3 separate regions of the Homo sapiens genome follow, and regions 1 and 3 are each linked to region 2. Evidence: promoter capture Hi-C in 16 types of primary human blood cells and fetal thymus (Javierre and others, 2016). All regions are on one chromosome and are shown on one strand. Each heading gives the region's core, a stretch centred on a gene start or on the middle of the fragment in contact. The rest is flanking DNA. Distances are from core to core; before and after follow the strand shown.

Region 1 (3,752 bases), core at 136-2,635, 130 kb before region 2:
GAATACAAACTAATAAATGTACAAGGAACGATGAATTAGAAGGTCACTGCTTATCATAAACTAATCAAGTTGTACACATGAAATATGTACAGTTTTTTACTTGTCAATCATCCCTCAATAAATATGTCTTTTTAACAAATCATTGTTTGGAAATTACCAGAGTAATAACTGACACAAGCAAGAATCATCAATGGTTGCTAAAACAAGATGATGAAAATTTGATGGGGACAGGATAATTGCATAGTATTACTGTATCTCCCCACAAGATATTCCCCCCAAAAAAACCCAAGAAACTAGTATCTTTAGAGTATTACACACTACCTAAACCAATAATAGTCACCTGATATCATATAACTCCTGATACAATGCATTAAGAGCACAACATCATTTCTGTGGGATTCCTGCCAAAAACATGTAACAAAACTCCAATCGTGAGGAAACACCAGAAAACAAATCTAAATTGAAGTACATTCTGTAAAATAGCTGGCCTGTGCTCAGTAAAAATGTCACAGTCAATAAAGACAAGGAAAGATGGAAGTGTTGTAAGTCTGAAATTATGTCAAAATTTTGTTAAATTTTTTAAACTTCCAAGCACCTGCCACTCCTACAATTCACCATCAAAACAAAAGGAAGTTTCTTCTAAGATAGCCACATGAACACCAATCTCCAAACTTACCCACAATCTCCCCCTACCCAACAAAAAAAAAAACCAATGATTTTAAAATATTACAAATATGGGGATATCTGCATCATTTCTGAAAAATAGGTTCCATCCTCATGTCAAAAACAGAGAAACTTCTGCTACATAAACAAGAAACAGGACCAAACTGTAATCACTGAGGAGTCAGTTCACATCTCTTTTTCCTGATGAAGTGGTTCAGTGTTTCAGGAAGTAAGTAAATACTTTCCCAGCAACTTGTGGGAAATAAAAACAATCACTTGCCAAAGACCTTCTGCTCCAGTGAACCAACAGCTTCCAGAAGCTGTATGCCAGAGAATGCAACAGCAGGTGGGCCACTCCTCTGTTATTGGATTTATTGGAGTTATTGGTGGGTTGATGGGCGTCTCCCTGAGACAAATGATGCTTCCATAACATTAAGAGAGAAGCAGAAAATCATGCAGGGAAGAAAAGGCTGAAGAAAAAATTAGGTACAAAAATCCAGCCTTTGGGGCTGGTCATGGTGGCTCATGCCTGTAATCCCAGCCCTTTGGGAGGCTGAGGCAGGAGATGTTTTATGTAAGCTTCGTGGTAACTACAAAGCAAAAAACTCAGTAGAGATGATTCAAAGCATACCACTAGAGAAAATCAATATAATTAGTCACATTGATATAATAAAGAAGAAAAATATTATCATCTCAAGAGATATAGGAAAAACATACAATACAATGATGATTTACGGAGAAAAACTTTTAGCAAACCAGGAATAATTTCCCTAACCTGATAAATGGTGTCTCTCAAAAAAAAAAGATTATACTTAATAGTGAACATATGCTTAAACATAGGCACATATTTAATAATGAAGTGAAGAAAGCTTGCCTTTTGAAATCAAGAACAATCAATGAAACCAGCTATCAGCACTTCCTTCCCATTGCATTAAATATTTTAGACAACACAGGAAAGCAAGGGGAATAAAAGACAAAGATTAAACAAAACTCACTATTCACAGATGATATATCTATGTGGAAGATCCAGAATACTACAGATAAATTATTTAAATTAATAAGATAATTTAGCAAGATTGTTGGATGCAAACAGCAATAAATGAAAATTATTTATATGTCTATGCTTGCAATACATAATTAGAAAATAAAATTTTAAAATAATAATGCCACTTATAAAATAATTTTTTAAATATAGAGTAAAATCCTGGGAAGGTAATGGCAATAACAGCAACATTGTTTTAAAATCTTCCCAAATACTCACATGAAAACAAGTAGTTCTACTAGATTGCAAGCCCAAAATCCATGGATAATATTTACAATATCAAGATAAACCCCAAAAGACAAGTCTATGAGAACAAACCACAAGAGCCACAGACCTGTATAGAATCAGCATCTGTGTGGGAGGAAACAAAGGAAGCAAGAGAGCATCTGACAGACCTGGGGATGGGGGACAGGGAAACCAGTCTCTCAAAATAATCAACAGGTACTCACCAGAAATCATGGGAAGGCTATTAGAGAACAGCAGCTAAAACTAGAAGATGTCTTGCCTAATCCAATAACAGTTGAGTGCATGGAGTCAACAATAGAAACTGAAGGGACCAGGGCAGACTAGATTCTATGAACTCTTAAAATTAACCAACCAGGGATCTTTTCCAACCCAGAGGCCACAATGAGGAGAAATTCCTGTGAGTAAAGCCAAATTGAGCAATACAAGAACAAGAATGATGAAGGATAGGCCAGACACAGTGGCTCATGCCTGTAATCCTAGTACTTTGGGAGGCCAAGGCAGGAGGATCACTTGAGGCCAGGAATTCAAGATAAGCCTTGACAATGCAGTGAAAACCCATCTCTACCAAAAAAAAAAAAAAAAAATTAAAATTAAAATTAGCCAGGCATAGTGGGACACGCCAGTGGTCCCAGCTATTTGGGAGGCTAAGTGGAGAGGATCGCTTGAGCCCAGGAGTTCAAGGTTGCAGTGGGCTATGATCACACCACTGAACTCCAGCCTGAGCAACAGAGTGGGACCTCATTCTCTAAAAAAATAAAATAAAATAGGCCAGGTGCAGTGGTTCATGCCCGTAATCCCAGCACTTTGAGAAGCCAAGGCAGGAGGATCACTTGAAGTCAGGAGTTTAAGACAAGCCTGGCCAATATGGTGAAACCCCATCTCTACCAAAAAATACAAAAATTAGCCAGGCATGGTGGGACACACCTGTAGCCCCAGCTACTCGGAAGGCTGAGGTGAGATAATTACTTGAATCCAGGAGGGGGAGGTTGCAGTGAGCCAAGATTGCACCACTGCACTCCAGCTTGGGCAACAGAGTAAGACCCTATCTCAAAAATAATAACAATAATAATAAAATAAAATTAATTAATTAAAAGATAATTTTAAGAAAACATAGAAATGAAGGATATACAGGATCCAGATAAAAATGGGGAGAAGAAATTTCCACTTTTGACCATGAAAGCAAAACAGTGTCTGGAGTTACCTCCACAAAAACACTACAAAACTGTACAAATAGGCCAGGCGCCGTGGCTCACGCCTGTAATCCTAGCACTTTAGGAGGCCGAGGCGGGCGGACCACGAGGTCAGGAGATCAAGACCATCCTGGCTAACATGGTGAAACCCCATCTCTACTAAAAATACAAAAAATTAGCCGGGCATGGTGGCGGGCGCCTGTAGTCCCAGCTACTCGGGAGGCTGTGGCAGGAGAATGGCGTGAACCCAGGAGGTGGGGCTTGCAGTGAGCAGAGATCGCACCACTGCACTCCAGCCAGGGCAACACAGCGAGACTCCGTCTCAAAAAAAAAAAACTGTACAAATAATTAAAACAACTATTTTCACATATTAAACAAAGGCAGTACAGCATTGCAATCTCTAAAAAAAGGCCAGAAAACAAGGTAACTAATTGCACGATTGCCCCATTTTTCTGCTAATTTCCAAACTTTGGCACAGGAGGAAGAATACAAACAGAGCCTGGCAGTCTCAGCACTTGAGGAGGCAAAAGTCAGTTCAGGAAGGCTTAGGTGACTAGAATTAGCTGGGCTAAGTACTCAACAGAAGGGAGCCACAGAGAAAGAGCTCTAGG
Region 2 (4,052 bases), core at 572-3,071:
CATTGGAAGCAAATGCTTTTCTCTGCACAAACTCCCTGCTGATGGTCCTGGCCAGAGCCCGGGGGTCTCTGGGGACCCAAGAGGTAACTCAGAGAGTGAGAGCCAGAGAGATTGACTGTGAGAAACCCTAGCACAGATGAGAAACAGAGGCAGAGACTGAGGGAGGGGCCTGAGGAATACATCCCTCCCGCTGCCACCCCCCAGCCCCCTCCACCAGCACGTCTCTTTCTCTCTCTCTCATTCTCCTGACTTCACACTGATGTATTTTGAGAAACTCGTGAAAGGAGGCGAGAAAAAGGGTGGGGAGGGGCTGGAAAATTGGAAAAAGAAGGGGTGAGGTTATCTCAGCTTCCCCTCCACCACCAACCTCCGTCACTGCACCATCCTCCTGCCCACCTCCCCCCACTTCTGTCCAGCCTTATTCTTGTCTCTCATGTTACTAGAGGGTGGGGTAACTTTGGAGCTAAGAGGTGATCTGCAGCAAGCAAGACTGATGTTAGACTTAGCAAAGGACCCCCATGGCCTAGCGAGGTGGACTGAAGCTCAGCGAAACACAGGGTCAGGGCTGTGGGCCAAGGGGACAGGGCCTGAGGGCACGGCGGCAGGGGCATGGTGCTGATGAGGCCATCTCCTTCGTGCACTGTGGCCAGATATATTTTTAGGCTTTTCCGCAGCTGAGTAATTTATCTGACTTAGAGCCAAAGCTGGGGTTGGGGGTGAGAGCCTGTGGGGAGGTGTCCAGATTATCCTGAGGGACACTCGGTTCACTGGGGTCATCAACCTGGTTGGGAGGGAGTCCCTGTCAGCCCCAGCCTGTATCCTTTGGGAAGGCTGTCCTACCCCAGGAGCCGAAATTTTTGGCCTCTAACTCCTTTCTCTCCCAGGGACCCAGGGTGCTGTGACTTCTTCCACCCAGCCTCACCCCCTCAAGGACAACGGGCTATGAGCCCCAATCCGCTTTAGCTGCAGATTAAACTCCATGCCAGACAGAAACGGAAAAAGACACAGAGAGACGGAGAGACCCATGGTGGGAGAATTAAAACACAGAGACGGGGACAGGGACCCAGAGAAGTGGGGACCAGAGATCCAGGGAAGAGGAGAGACCCAGAAAGAGGGGGACAGAGACTCTGAGTCAGGAGTTGATAGAGATCCAGTGAGAGCAATGGCCAGAGAACCAGAGAGAGGGGCACAGAGACGCAAAGAAGCGGAGGCAGAGATCTAGGGAGAAGGAGGGGCCCAGAGAGAAGGGAGCCGAGATCTGGAAAAAGAGGGAGACGGAGACCCAGAGAGAAAAGGGGCAGAGACATCCAGAAAGAGACGGGGACAGAGACCCAGAAGTGGTGGGGGAGGAGCCAGAGACCCGGGAGAGAGGCATTTACAGCACCAGAGAGAGTGGAGCCGGGTGGGGTGGGGTGCAGAAAAAGGAACAGGATAATGGACAAGGCTCGACCAGGGAGAACAGCGCCGTCGGAGCCCACGGCAGAAAACTGGACAGATGGGTGGACCCCCATGCCGGGGTATCGCCCGTTCATCTGTCAGTCTGCGCCCAGGTGGGAATTAGCATCCTCCTCAGATCCTCCCACTCTTCTCCCGGGACCCCCGCCAGGCTCACCGGTGCAGCTTCCCGAGAGCACGACCCGCTAGCTTCCGAAACTCCTCCTGGCGGAACTCCATGGTGGCGGCTCCTGCCGCCGGTCACCCCGCGGGTCCCCCCCGCCGATCCCCCCGCCCGCGGGCCCGGGCGGCCGCGTCCGGGTTCCCGGGGTCCAGCCCCGGCCCGGCCGGCCCCGCAGCTCCGCTCGGGGGGAAGGAGGCTGCAAGTGCAGGCGGCCCGGGGGCTGTCACAGGACTCAGCGCCGGGGGCGGGGCGCGGGAGGCCCCGCCCCGGCCCCACCAGGCCCCTCCCCTCGTCTGTCAGACCCGCCCCCTCTCGCAGCCCTTTCATCCTCGTCCTGTCCCCTCCTGAGCCTTCCAAGACCACGCCTGTGGGTTCTGAACTCACGCCTCCGAGTTCACGCCCCCCAATTCTGTTCCTTCCCCAGGCTACTCCCCCTATCCCTGTTCCATCACCCCTGGCTCCTACCCAGATTTTCTCTCCTCTCCTGAGTTCTCATCCCCATCATTTCTCTCCCCGACTTCTGTTCCCCCTAATTGCGTCCCTTACAATCCTGTCTTCTCTGACTTTCCCTCTGCGTTCATCCTCCAGTTCCTTCACTCCTCCCCGCCCCCACCCCGCAATTCCATCCCCATCCCACCTCGTCCCCAGTTCCAATAGTCTCATCCAGGGAGTTCTTTGTTTTCTCATTCAAGGGAAATTCTTTCCCCTCAAGTCCAACGCCTACTTCGATCCACCTGTCGTCCCCCTCTAGTCCCTTTCGCCACCCGGGTTCTTCACCCTTGAGCTCCATCTCCTCCTTAGTTTCCATCTTTCCCCTTTGAATCCCATACTCCTCCAGCTCTATTCTCCCTCCGGCGTCTCTCTCCTCCCTGTTGCTTCTCTCCCTGAGTTTCATTCCCTAACCCCGATTTTCTTCCCTCTGGCTTCCGCCCCCCACAGTTATATTTCACACACCCCGCCAGTGCCAGCTGCGACCCCATAGTCTCCCCATTGTGTTATTTCTCTGCTCCTCTGGGATCTGTCCGCGCTCTGAGTTCTTCCCTAGCTCCGGGGGATCCATTCCTCTATTTGAGTTCTGTCTCCACCCCCTGAGATCTGTCCCGCCCCCTAAATTGTGATCCGCACCCCCTGGCATCCTCACCCGCCCTCTGAATTTGTCTCCTCCCCTAGGATCTGTCGCTGACCTGAGTTCTGCCCCCGCCCTCTGAGTTCTCTCCCCACCGTTGGAGTTGTGTCCCCTTCTCCTAGGATCTGTCCCTGGCTCTGTTCCCGCCCTCTCAGTTCTGTCCTTGCCCCCTGGAATCTGTTCCTGCCATCTGAGTTCTACCCCTTCCCCACAGGATCTATCTCTGCCCCCTGGAATCTGTCCCCACCCACCGAGTTCTGGCCTCCGTCCCTGGGATCTGTCCCCGCCCTCTGTGTTCTACCCCTGCCCCATGGGATCTGTCCCCGCCCACCCAGTTCTCCCCGCCCCCTGGATCTCTCCCTACCCTCCCAGTCTTGCCCCGGCCCCATGGGATCTGTCCCCGCCCTCCGACTTCTGACCCTCGCCACTGGGATCTGTCCTCGACCTCCCAGTCCTGCCTCCGCCCCCGGAATCTGACCCCGCCCACCGAGCTCTGGCCTCCGCCCCTGAGATCTGTCCCCGCCCTCCCAGTCTTGCCCCTGCCCCATGGGATCTGTCCCCCGCCCACCGCCTCCGCCTCTGGGATCTGTCCCTGCCCTCCCAGTCCTGCTCCCACCCCCGGAATCTGTCCCCGCCCACCGAACTCTGTCTCCACGCCGGAATTCCAGCGCCGCCCCGTTGGGTAGAGCCCGGCCCTTCCCTGTCCTGGGCCCGCAGACAGGGTCCCGCCCCGCTCCTGTCCTCAGACCAGCCCATCTCCCGGCGCTGAGTCCACCTCCAGATCCAGGCCCCAGGAGGGTGATCCTTTCCCCACTACCTCCCCGCGTCGGGCCGCAAATGCATTTGGTATTAAATTTTCATGATGCGGCCCGCGGTGGGGTGGGAGGAGCAGACGGCGCGTCGGGCGGGCGCCAAGGACGGGGTGGCCGGGAAGCCACTGACCGCCGCAGCCTCTCGCTTCCAGCCTTGACTGGCTGTGTCTCTGGGTCTCACAGCTTTGAGAAACCCCTGGGACCCCAGAACGGAGGACGCTGCGGGTCTGAGGCAGGAGGGAGGTAGGAACTGGGACTCGTGGGGCTGAAGTAGCAGCGCGGGAGCCGCTCACACGCGCCACCCAGTGGCTGCAGAGTCCCCGGCCCGGGTGCGGAGGCGGTGGTTGCGGCTTGGGGCCAGGTGTGAGGGTGGAGCAGATGGTGAAGAGGAGGGAGTGGGAAGCGGGCCCCGCCGCTGCCAAAACTTGGGCCTTTGCCGAAACCATCGCCATGGAAACCGAGGAAGGAGGAAAGGACTCAGCCGCACACTTTTTCA
Region 3 (3,600 bases), core at 837-3,336, 73 kb before region 2:
TTTGTTTTTTTGGTTTTTTTTTTTGAGAATGGAGTCTTGCTCTGTTATCCAGGCTGGAGTACAGTGGCACAATCTCAGCTCACTGCAACCTCCAACTCCCAGACTCAAATGATCCTCCCACCTCAGCCTCCGGAATAGCTGGAACTACAGGCGCGGACCACCACACCCAGCTAATTTTTCTATTTTTAGTAGAGACGGGGTTTCGCCATGTTTCCCAGGCTGGTCTCGAACTCCTGAGCTCAGGCAATCCGCCCGCCTCTGCCTCCCAAAGTACTAGGATTATAGACATGAGCCACCACACCTGGCCCAAAATGTGATTTTCTTCTTCTTTTTTTGTTTTTTTTGAGATGGAGTTTCGCTCTGTTGCCCAGGCTAGAGTGCAATGGCACAATCTCAGCTCACTGCAACCTCCGCCACTGAGGTTCAAGTGATTCTCCAGCCCTAGCCTCCCAAGTAGATGGGACTACAAGTACGTGCCACCACGTCCAGCTAATTTTTGAATTTTTAGTGTAGACAGGGTTTCGCCATGTTGGCCATGTTGGCCAGGCTGGTCTCGAACTCCTGACCTCAGCTGATCCACCTGCCTCGGCCTCCCAAAGTGCTGGGATTATAGGCATGAGCTACTGCGCCTGGCCCAAAATGTGATTTTTAATACCAAAGAGCTGTATGAATGCTAAATGCGTTGTGTATTTCACCTTTGGTAAACTTTTTTTTTTTTTTTTTTGGAGACGAAGTCTCGCTCGTCCCCCAGGCTGGAGTGCAATGGTGCGATCTCAGCTCACTGCAACCTCCATCTCCCAGGTTCAAGTGATTCTCCTGCCTCAGCCTCCTGTGTAGCTGGGATTACAGGTGACTGCCACCACACCTGACTAATTTTTCTATTTTTAGAGAGACAAGGTTTCATCATGTTGGCCAGACTGCTCTTGAACTCCTGACCTCAGGTGATCCAACTGCCTTGGCCTCCCAAGGTGCTGGGATTATAGGCGTGAGCCACCATGCCTGGCCAGGCCACCTTTGGTAAACTTCTACAAGTGATTCTAATTATGAAGTGCTTTGCAAAATCAGGGTATTTTTAATCCTGAAAAGTTTTAAGAAACCCAAAGAGCTTGATACATCCATATGATACCCACGTACACCCATGCAATATCTTCATTTTAAAAATGTTTATTTAAAATTTTATTTTAAAAATTTCAGGACAGGCACAGTGGCTTACACCTATAATCCTAGCAATTTGGGAGGCTGAGGCAGGAGGATGACTTGAGCCCACGAGTTTGAGATCACCCTGGGCAATAGAGGGAGTCTTCATCTCTACAAAAAAATTTAAAAAGTAGGCCAGGCATGCTGGCTTACGCCTGTAATCCTAGCAATTTGGGAGGCCAAGGCAGGCAGATTGCCTGAGCTCAGGAGTTCGAGACCAGCCTGGGCAACACGGTGAAACCCTGTCTCTACTAAAATACGAAAAATTAGCCGGGCATGGCAGCCTGCACCTGTAGTCCCAGCTACTCTGGAGGCTGAGGTAAAAGAATTGTTTGAACCCGGGAGGCAGAGGTTGCAGTGAGCCAAGATCATGTCACTGCACTCCAGCCTGGGGGACAGAGTGAGACTCTGTCTCCAAAAAAAAAAAAAAAATCAAAAAAGTAGCCAGGTGTGGTGGTGTGTGCTGTGGTTCCAGCTACCCAGAAGCCTGAGGTGGGAGGATTGTTTGAGACGAGGAGGTTGAGTCTAAAGTGGGCCCAGATCATGCCACTGCACTCTAGCCTGGGCAACAGAGTGAGACTCTGTCTCAAAAAATAAATAAATAAATAAATAAATAAAATTTCAAGACTACAGAAAAGTTTTTTTTAAAAAACATACTTTATTATTTTGGAAATGGAGTCTCCCTCTGTCACCCAGACTGGAGTGTAGTGGTGCCATCTTGGCTCACAGCAACCTCCACCTTCTAGGTTGTGGAAAGTAAAAAAGTTTCTCTTTAAAGTTTTTATTAAATAATAAATCACAAGTGTTAGAAATAATATTTTTAATTAACTTTTTTTAAGCCTCTTTGCTTTGTGTTAGTAACTCTTTTTTAAACCATATCTTATGTAGTTGTTAGATATAAGGAAATAAGTACCTTCTGTGTCCTTGTACGTTAACCAAGATATTTGGTCTCGACGTGCTCAAGCATGTCCCAGCTCACAGCTTATGCCCTTTCCTTATTTGGAAATGTTATTACTTCTCCAAGTCTTTTGGCAAGCAACTTCCTCTTTTCCTTTGTTCTCCATTGCCTTTACCTATTTAAGAAAGTTTTTTAAGTTGTTAGCCAATTGGGTTTAGCTTAGACTGTGAGGTCCAGCTCCAACCAATGGAGACAGGACACAGCAGTAAGGACCCAATGCATAAGGGATAAATATTCCTGCCTTTCTTTGTTCATTGTGCTCTCCTGGCAGGATTGCTGATGGGCAGCACCCTTTCTACAGAAAGTAAAATTGCCTTGCTGAGAAAACTTTTTGTCTGAATGCTAATTTTTCCTTGCGACACCAAGAAACAAGCATTTTGATTCTAACACAGGTTCAAGTGATTCTCCTGCCTCAGCCTCCCAAAGAGCAGGGATAACAGGCACGCACTACAATATCCAGCTAATTTTTTTTTGTTTGTTTTTTGTTTTTTGTATTTTTAGTAGCGATGAGGTTTTGCTATGTTGGCCAGGCTGGTCTTGAATTCCTGACTTTGGGTGATCCACCCACCTCGGCCTCCCAAAGTGCTGGGATTACAGGCAAGAGAAGTTTTTCTTAAAATAGTACAACAGATTTTAGGCTCTTCTGTATCTGCCCACCGAGCTACTCTGTTCCTGGCTTAGAGAACCAGGAGAAGGGGAAGGGGAATCACCTGCCACATGCTGGAGGTTGGAGCCTGTGGCACCATGGCTTGCCTCACTGCAGTTGGTGGTGGCAACAGAGGCTGCAGTGTGGCCAGAGTGGCTTTTCTGGCTTTGCCCGCCCAGCCACTCTGAGAAAGGCTGGAGGAGAAAGTGAAGGAGGAGTCACCTGTGGTGAGGTGGAGTTTGGAGCTTGCAGATGGCACGGCTCTGTGGCTCACCTCCTACAGTTGTGGCGGTGACAGCGAGGGAGACTTCAGCCTGACTGGAGTAGAAGGGTGCTCGTGAAGGCTAGAGTATTGCCTCCAAGATGCAGCAGTGGATACTCAGGTTTCAGGAGACTCCACTGTCCATGGCGAATCCATGGTCTGCCAGCGCAGTTTTAGAGAGAGAATGTGCCACCGCAGGTGTCATCCTCATGTGCACCCTGGCAGGTAGCCATCTGAAGATTTCAAGGACAACCTGGCAGGGGAGCAGACCAGCGACACTTCCTCTGAACAGGTTCTTGCTGTTCACTTGACAGACTCAGCAACTCAGGCAAGTGTTCACATGGAAGATATCCTGGAAGGATACCAAGCCAGTGAAAGCTCAGATGAAAATGCCCCATGGCTTTGGAAGGCCAATGAATGTGCCAAGGAAAAAGGTGCCATGGAGGATCCTCTGGAAGACCTCGCCAATGAAATTTCAGATTAGGACACCCCACTGGATTTGAAGGCCAAAGAACGTGCCAAGGAAAAAGTTCCCAT

The links. The method cuts DNA at HindIII sites, captures the fragments that hold promoters and counts their contacts. A CHiCAGO score of 5 or more calls a contact.
Region 1: a fragment that was not itself captured here is called in contact with the fragment with the promoter of SLC17A7 in region 2 in 3 of 17 cell types (naive B cells, total B cells and endothelial precursors); the score reaches 11.4 in naive B cells.
Region 3: a fragment that was not itself captured here is called in contact with the fragment with the promoter of SLC17A7 in region 2 in 3 of 17 cell types (endothelial precursors, naive B cells and total B cells); the score reaches 6.3 in endothelial precursors.

Annotation. Positions count from the first base shown.
Region 1 is chr19:49,314,341-49,318,092 of GRCh38, forward strand. All of the region lies in intron 1 of SLC6A16 (solute carrier family 6 member 16), which reads right to left. Among named protein-coding and RNA genes, the nearest start is that of MIR4324, 7.3 kb to the left of the region's middle. The HindIII fragment of the contact is 290 bases long and covers 1,241-1,530 here.
Region 2 is chr19:49,439,706-49,443,757 of GRCh38, forward strand. SLC17A7 (solute carrier family 17 member 7) reads right to left here and starts at 1,822. Exons shown (of 12, transcript NM_020309.4): 1 at 1,613-1,822. The coding sequence starts at 1,674. The HindIII fragment of the contact is 19,375 bases long and covers 1-4,052 here.
Region 3 is chr19:49,366,701-49,370,300 of GRCh38, forward strand. All of the region lies in intron 4 of DKKL1 (dickkopf like acrosomal protein 1), which reads left to right. It overlaps LOC101928295 (a long non-coding RNA gene), which reads right to left. Exons shown (of 3, transcript NR_110729.1): 3 at 2,005-3,600. Among named protein-coding and RNA genes, the nearest start is that of DKKL1, 4.6 kb to the left of the region's middle. The HindIII fragment of the contact is 4,505 bases long and covers 1-3,600 here.